Linked DNA regions of Homo sapiens: regions 1 and 3 are each linked to region 2. Evidence: promoter capture Hi-C in human tissues and cell types (Jung and others, 2019). All regions are on one chromosome and are shown on one strand. Each heading gives the region's core, a stretch centred on a gene start or on the middle of the fragment in contact. The rest is flanking DNA. Distances are from core to core; before and after follow the strand shown.

The links. Contacts are between HindIII fragments. The study calls those that stand out against the background at their distance.
Region 1: a fragment that was not itself captured here is called in contact with the fragment with the promoter of BICC1 in region 2 in 2 of the 25 tissues and cell types used here (IMR-90 fibroblasts and dorsolateral prefrontal cortex).
Region 3: a fragment that was not itself captured here is called in contact with the fragment with the promoter of BICC1 in region 2 in 2 of the 25 tissues and cell types used here (dorsolateral prefrontal cortex and hippocampus).

The regions. Positions count from the first base shown.
Region 1 is chr10:58,688,678-58,691,467 of GRCh38, reverse strand. The region is part of intron 2 of BICC1 (BicC family RNA binding protein 1); the gene reads right to left. Among named protein-coding and RNA genes, the nearest start is that of BICC1, 180 kb to the right of the region's middle. The HindIII fragment of the contact is 7,285 bases long and covers 1-2,790 here.
Region 2 is chr10:58,511,555-58,514,254 of GRCh38, reverse strand. BICC1 (BicC family RNA binding protein 1) reads right to left here and starts at 1,383. Exons shown (of 21, transcript NM_001080512.3): 1 at 922-1,383. The coding sequence starts at 1,111. It overlaps LOC124902427 (a long non-coding RNA gene), which reads left to right and starts at 2,203. Exons shown (of 2, transcript XR_007062147.1): 1 at 2,203-2,595. The HindIII fragment of the contact is 7,114 bases long and covers 1-2,700 here.
Region 3 is chr10:58,728,193-58,731,056 of GRCh38, reverse strand. All of the region lies in intron 3 of BICC1 (BicC family RNA binding protein 1), which reads right to left. Among named protein-coding and RNA genes, the nearest start is that of BICC1, 220 kb to the right of the region's middle. The HindIII fragment of the contact is 3,764 bases long and covers 1-2,864 here.

The DNA.
Region 1 (2,790 bases), core at 179-2,678, 180 kb before region 2:
CCTATAATGTTAGTGAAGAACAGGTCTTGGGGTTCCTCTGGGACATAAAAATATGTTTCTAAAAGCTACTTCATTCTCCAAGGAATAATTTCTTCAGAAATATTAGCCAGATCTTCTATCAGATCTCATGGGTAACTACAAAGAGATTTATTAAACTTGAACTATCAAGGTACAACTTGTATATAACTTGAATACAACAGTGTATAATTTGGACAACACAAATAATTCCTAGAGATCTACTGTAAAGCACACTGCCTGGAGATAACAACACTGTACTGTATACTTAATTTGCTAAGAGGGTAGATATTATATGAAGTGTTTTTCTCAGGAAAAAAACAATAATAAAGAGGACAGGAGGAAACTTTCAGAGAGGGTGGATAGCTTGTGGTGATGGTCTCTTGGATATATACTTATTTCCAAACTCATCAAGTTGTATACATTAAATATGTACACCTTCTTATGTCGATTATCCTCAATAAAGTCTTTTTAAAAAATGAAACTAAACAAACTTGGGGGAGGAACGGAAATAGTACTGATTTAACAAAATATCAAGCTACCAAACCTTGAATGCAATTTTCTAGTCTCCAATTTTTCATAAGACTAGTTACTCCAGTTACTGTAGATTCACACATGCTTTTTTAGGGAATACATTTTACTACTCAACTCAGTTCATCTCTTAAAGCAAATGACCCTACTTAGCTTAGTAGGTCCTGATGGCATCTATGCTGATGAGTAATAACAGATCAGCACAATAACTGAGATCTATAATGGCAACACTGAGATATCAAAAAGAGAGAAACTTTTATGTAGGCTCTACTGGGTGAGCAGGCAAGGAGGTAAGGATTAGGTTTGAGAAAGGTGCTTCCAGACAAAGAGTAAATATTGAAAGGAGGTATGTATTCATTGTGCTCCTGTAACAATTCCAAATGCCAGTGGATGAACAGAACAAAAGTTCATTTCTCCCCCATGTTAAATGGCCTACAAGGGTCAACAAGAGGCTCAGCTCCACACAGGCTTCACACAGTCACTCAGCGACTCAAACTAACAGAGATCCTTCCATTTTATAGCTGCCCATCTGGAATCCATGGTCCCTTCAGTCTCCTCATGGGAGAAAAACAGGAAGAATTCTGCATGGATCTTTTACTGCCATGGCCTGTAAGAAAAATGTATCTCTTTCACAGCCCATTGTCCATCATGAGACACATGCCCACGCAACTGAAAGGTGGCTGGGAAATGCGGAAAGCAATTAGAATATTTGGTGGGCACGACTGCCTCTGCCAGAAAAGTTTAGGGGTGTGGGGAGGGATTAAGGAAGGGGGTGTGTGTATGTATGTATTTTATTCATATTCCACTGTATGATAGCCCAGAGTTTACTTAACTCTCATCTTTTAATGCTGTATATATTCCTTAAAGAAGAGACAAAAGTAAACAATATGTTTATGGTGAAACACTACATAAAAAGGTCAGAATAATTTTGATTACTTCTTATCCCATACAGGTCCTTTCCCTGAATTATATCAAATTTGTAATGCATCAAGTTGAAATACTGGTAAAAAACACCTAATGAGCTCTAAAACTGAAAAGTGTCATATGCTTCAGCCACCCAAACCTTACCCATCTGACCAATTTCGGCAAAGTCAAATCAAATGGTAAAAGGGAGAATTAGCTGGTAAATGAGGAAAGTGTCAGTACTCAGCTTACACCACCGTGGACTGTTCCACTAACTTCTGTCCTCAGCACCTTGGGAATCAGTGGACTGAATGTTTGCTCCGCTTTGCTTGTACAAAACTGGCCAGGTCTGTACTACTACAAACTTTCAGAGTAACACATTCACAGAAAGAGTCTGAAAACACTGAAGAATTCAAGAACACTGTCTCTTGCTTTTTTCCTTTAAAACACATATTGCTCCTTTCAGAATCCAGACTCATAAATGTAACCTCTGAAGCAAGTTGCAACCTTGTTATGCCACCAGCTCCTTGACATGTTTAAACTGCACTCAATCTTCTGTGCACAAGTGAACATTTAAGCTGTCTACCCAGAATCCTGGAATCAACCTGATTATCTAAAAGGGATGCCACTCCCATTCCCATAGGTTGGTTTACCAATAGGCACGTGATCCAATCTGGGCCACAGACAAGGGAGAAGAGGTCTCATGGAAGCTTTTGAGAATGAAGCTTTCTGGCTTTGTAAGAGAATTACTAAGTTCTCTCTTTCTCTTACCACATGTGAACAAAGGCACAGGTAGCCCTGATGCCACAGGCTCCACCCATGAGCCATAAGGAGTACCAACCATCAGTGTGAAAGACAGAGTCAGAAAACACCTGGATCCTGGATCCTAGATCCTAGATGATATCGCAGAAAGGTTCTTGATCATTAGCACCAAAAACCTTTCTTTCTTTCTTAATACATGTTTTCTTGTTTTTTGTTGTTGTTGTTGTTATTATACTTTAAGTTCTGGGATACATGTGCAGAATGTGCAGGTTTGTTACACAGGTATACATGTGCCATGGTAGTTTGCTGCACCCATCAACCCGACATCTACATTAGGTATTTCTCCTAATGCTATCCCTCCCCTAGCCCCCCACTCCCCAACAGGCCCCAGTGTGTGATGTTCTCCTCCCTGTGCCCATATGTTCTCATTGTTCAGCTCCCACTTATGAGTGAGAATGTGTGGTGGTTGGTTTTATGTTCCTGTGTAGTTTCCTGGGAATGATGGTTTCCAGCTTCATCCACGTCCCTGCAAAGGACATGAACTCATTATTTTTTATGGCTGCATAGTATTACATGGTG
Region 2 (2,700 bases), core at 134-2,633:
TTTCTCTCTTTGGATGTGGGAAATGAGCCACATCGGTGGCTACAGGTAGGCTAGTAATTATCTGTTTTAAGAAAGGTCAAAATGACCTTGGACGTTTTGACGTTCACTCCAACACTCGTATTATAAATCAGAATCTGTTTTCGGTCCAGTATGGTTGAAGATTTTCTACCTGGGAAAGTCCCAAAGAAATTAAAGAGTTAAAAATAATTCTAAGTTGTGAAAGACAAAGTCAGACACCCATAGCATAGGAAGATTTTTATGGACTGAATGTAACTCAAGATGTGTTTTATAAGCCTGTCAAGAGATGAACACTGTCCTCAAACACAGCAGCACTGCCTCCACACTCCCCCCTCGCTTTGGCTGCTCACCCCGATCCTGGCCCTCCTTGACCACAGGGGTGGGGGCGGGAGCTCCTGTCTTAAGCCTTGACATCTGCAGAGCGTTTCCCAATAGTGAGACAAGGCCCCTCAGCTGGAGGAAGTGGATACTGACAAGGGGAGAGAGTGAAACAGACGGAGAGAGACAGAACTCGAGGCTGCCAGGGAATGGGGAGGGTCACGCATACTCTGTGCGGCCCGAGTGGTCCGGATGGCACAGCCCAGGTGTCCGGGCTAAAGTTGGCATCTCCAAAGTCCAGAACGCAACTTGGGCGCGCCAGTACAAACTCGGCCTTCGGCTTTTCTGAAGCCAGTCAAGTTCGCACAGGGCCCCCAGCGCCTGGAAATCTGAGAGGCGTGGAAGGGTGGGGAGTCCCGCGAAGTCTCCAGTCCCTGGGTGTCCTCCGGCTCCGCGGGGGAGCGGGCCTGGAGCTAAACCGGCCGGCCGTAGGCTGGAGTAGCGGGCGCCGGAGCGCGCGGTGGGGATGTCCGAAAAGGAGTTAGAGGCTCAGTCGGAGAGTCCGAGAACACGAGGGATGCCTACCTTGTAACATGGCCTCAAGTTTCTTCCTGTCCACGCGGAAGCGCTCCTCGCTCCACTCCGGGCTGTGCAGGGTCGCCCCGGCGACCAAGTCGTCCTCGGAGCCGGGCACTGGGGAGTCGGTGCTGCGCTCGCTGTTGGAGCCGGGGTCCGACTGCGCCGCCAGGTAGCCGGGCTCTCCCTGGGCGGCCATGGTGGGCGCGCAGCGCTCGGGCTCCCGCTGCCGCCGCCGCTCTGCCTGCGCTGCCGCCTCCGCTCGCCGGCCGGGCTCAACTGGCTCCCAGCGCCGCGGCGCTAGCTCGTCCCCCTGCAGCCGCCGACGCCACCGCCAACGCCGCCGCCGCCACTGAGCCCCCGGCGCATCCCAGCCCCGGGCGCCGCCCACGCCACCCGCCACCCCGGGTCGCGGCCCCGGTCCGGGTCCAGTGGCTGCGCCGCCCCCCGCCAGCAACGCCCGCGCGGAATGAGCGCGCCGCGCTGCCCGCGCCTCCATCCGCAGGGCTCGGCGCCCCCTCCCCGCCCGCCGCCCCTACAGCCGCGCGCTCATTGGCCCGGCCAGCCCACGGGGAGCCGCGGCGGGCGGGCGGCCCCTGGCGCTCACACACTCGCGCGCGCACACACACACCACGTACACACTGCCACTTTCTGCACTTACACGTATAAATCCTTTCCATACATGCACTTTCATAGCTCCTCAAACACACACACTCCTGAACGCACATGGAGTATCCACGTAATTCCTGTCTACACACACACATCACACACACTACTACTTTTCTGCACTTACACATACAAATCTCTTCCCCCTACATGCTCTCATAATCCTCCAAACACACAAACACAAACACGCCAAGTTCAAGCACAGCAGAGTCCTGAACGCACACTAAGCGCATACACAATTCCGCTGTTTACATACATACCCTACACCCTGAAACTCACAGCCCCAGTTGGTTCCACAAGCTCGAACGTGAGGAAGAGGAAAAAGAAGGCTTGGAGAAGAAATCATGCCCGTCTTTCGCAGGCATCGCCATGGACGTGGCTCGCATGTAGTTCATACCTCCAGGAAGGGCTCAAACCCAGACACCTCGTCTCCTCCCAGCAAAGTGGCCCGCTGCACGAGAGGTGGACAAGAGGCTTACTCTTTTTATTCTGAGAAAGGGAATTTTTTTTTTTCTTGAATGGAGTAAGGAAGGAATTGTTTTCTCTGTGATTCTCAAGGAATGGACTCAGCAGACTTTTTTTTTTTTTTAAGTAGAAAAGGGGCTCGGAGATCGCTGTGTTGGCGAGCTGGATCCAGCTGGCACGTGGGCAGGGCTGTCTTGTCAGGGACTGAGGGCTTTTCTCTGTTTTCAAGGTCAGTCTCTGACAGATGACGGCCAGTAACCTCTGAGCCTCACTGCCGAGGGCCAGCCCACCCACGGCCTCTGTCAAGCTTGGATATGAAGCGCGGGGGAAGAGGAGACTCGCTCGTACTGGGTGTGCCCTTGGAACTCTGTTTTCCCAGTTCACACAGATTCATAGCCTATTATTTTATGACCCAAAGTACAAAGACTTGCGGGGAGGAATGATGGGGATAGCAGTTTGTCACTGCGCCACAGAAGGAGGCTGCCTGGCTCACATGTAGGAAGAGCCATATCACTGGCACAGGCCTCTGGATAATCATGGAATATGCTGAAGGTAAATCAAAATTATTTCAGGTTCAGCTGCCTAGTTAACAGGAATTGACCCTGTGATGGGTACAGATGAGGAAACTGAGACCGTGGGAAATAAAGTAACTTGACT
Region 3 (2,864 bases), core at 283-2,782, 220 kb before region 2:
GCAAAGATGTTATCTGAAACTGGTACTCTTATTTAAAAGGGAAGCACAACATAAAAGTTTGGAAAAATTTGCAGCCTGCTTCTGTGTTAGAAAAGAAAAGCCCATTTTCAAAGGAGGAATTCAAGCAGGCTGCAGGAATTTGCATAATCTCCCATCATAGGCAGGGAGGCCTAGGGGGGCTGAATGGTTTCCTGGGCCAGGCCAAGGGCCCTGCAACCCCGCACAGCCTTAGAACACTGCTCCCAGTATCCCTGTTGCCCCAGCTGCAGCCCTGACTCAAAAGAGCAAAGGTACCACTCAGGACTCTGCTTCAGAAGGTGCAGGCTAGAAGCATTGGTGGTTTCTACACTGTGTTAAGATCACAGGGACACAGAAAGAAAGACTGAGGCTTGGGAGCCTCTGCCTAGATTTTAGAGGATATATGAAAAAGCCTAGATGTCCAAGCAGAAGCCTGCTACAGGGGCAGAGCCCTCACTGAGAACCTCTAATAGGGTAGTGTGGAGGAGAAATGTGGGGTTGGGGCTCCCACACAGAGTCCCAACTGGGGCACTGCCTAGTGGAGCTGTGAGTAGAAGGCCACTGTCCTCCAAACCTTGGAAGGGTAAACCACTGGCAACTTGCACCCTGCACTGGAAAAGCCACAGGCACTCAATGCCAGCCCATGACAGTAGCCACAGGGGCTAAACCCCACAAGGCCACAGGAGTAGAGCTCCCCAAGACCTTGGGAGCTCACCTCTCATGCCAGTGTGCCCTGGATGTGGGACATGAAGTCAAAGGAGATTATTTTGTTTGGAGCTTTAAGATTTAATGACTGTCCTGCTGGGTTTCTGACTTGCATAGTGCCTGTAACCCCCTTTTTTGCTGTTTTCTACCTTTTGGAACTGGAGTATTTTACCTAATGCCTATACCTTCATTGTATCTTGGAAGTAACTAACTTGTTTTTGATTTTACAGGCTCATGGGCAGAAGGGACTTGCCTTGTCTCAAATGAGACCTGAGACTTTGGACATCTTAGTTAATGCTGAATGAGTTAAGACTTGGGGGACTGTTGGGAAGGCATGATTGTATTTTGCAATGTGAGAAGGATATGAGATCTGTGGGGTCAGGGGAGAAAGATATGGTTTAAATCTGTGTCCTCACAAAACCTCATGTTGAATTGTAATCTCCAATGTTGGAGGTGGGGCCTGGTGGGAGGCAACTGGACCATTGGGTGGATTCTTCATGGATGATTTAACAGCGTCCCCCTTGGTACTGTCGTCACAATAGTGAGTGAATTCTTGCGAGATGTGGTTGTTTAAAAGTGTGTAGCACCTCTGCCTCTTTCACTCTCTTCATCCTGCTTCTGTCATGTAAGATGGCTGCTACCACTTGGCCTTCACCATGAGTAAAAGCTCCCTGAGGCCTCCCCAGAAGGAGATGCCACCATACCTTCTGTAAAACCTGTGGAATCATGAGCCAATTAAACCTCTTTTCTTTATAAATTACCCAGTCTCAGGTATTTCTTTAAAGCTGTGTGGGAACAAACACAAGCCTTATTGCTGATATGAAGAAAGTTTTAGTGATCTGAATAGAAAATGTAAGAAGCCACAACAAAGCCTAATCCAGAGCAAAGCCCTAACTCTCTTCAATTTTCTAAAGGCTGAGAGAGGTAAGGAAGCTAAAGAAGAAAAGTTGGAGGCTAAGACTGACAGGTTCATAAAGTTTAAGAAAAGATGCCATCTCCATAATTTTAAAATGCAAGGTGAAGCAGCAAGTGCTGATGTAGAAGCTGTAGCAAGTTATCCAGAAGATCTAGCTATGAAAATTGATGAAGGTGACTACACTGAACAACAAATTTTCAACGTAGACAAAACAGCCTTCTGTTGGAAAAAAAGGTGTCATCTAGAACTTTCCTAGCTAGAAAGGAGAAGTCAGTGTCTGCCTTCAAAGCTTTCAAAGACAGACTGATGCTCTTGACAGGGGATAATGCAGCTGGTGACTACAAGTCGAAGCCAATGATCATTTACCATTCCCAAAATCCCAGAATCCTCAAGAATTATGCTAAATCTACTCTGCCTGTTCTCTATAAATGTAACAAAGTCTGGATGACAGCACATGTGTTTGCAGTATGATTTGCTGAATATTTTAAGCCCACTGTTGAGACTTACTGCTCAGAAAAAAAAGATTCCTTTTTTTAATATTAAAATAAAAAACAAAATATTACTGCTCATTGACAATGCACCTGGTCACAAAAGAGGTCTGATGAAGATGTACAAAAAGATTAATGTTTTTACGCCTGCTAACACAATATTCCTTCTGTACCCCATGGATAGAGGAGTAATTATGACTTTCAAGTATTATTATTATTATTATTTAAGAAATACATTTTGTAAGACTATAGCTGACACAGTTATTCCTCTGATGGATTGCGGCAAAGTAAATTGAAAACCTCTGGAAAGGATGTATTATTCTATGTATCATTCATGATTCATAGGAGGAGGTCAAAATAGCAATTATAACGGGAGTTTGGAAGAAGTTGATTTCAACTCTCATGGATGACTTTGAGGGGGTTCAAGACTTCAGTAAAGAGAGTAGCTGCAGTGGTGGTGAAAACAGCAAGAGAACTGTAATTAGAAGTTAAGCCTAAAGATATAAATGAATTTCTGCAATCTCAGGATAAAACTTGAGTGGATGAGACATTGCTTCTAATGGATAAGCAAAGAACATGGGTTCTTTGTCTTCTGATGAAGATGCTACAAAGATTGTTGAAATGAAAACCAAAAATGTATAATACTATATAAACTTAGTTGATAAAGCAGTGGCAGAGTTTCAGAGGATTGATGACAATTGTAAAAGAAGTTCTACTCTGAATAAAATGCTATTAGA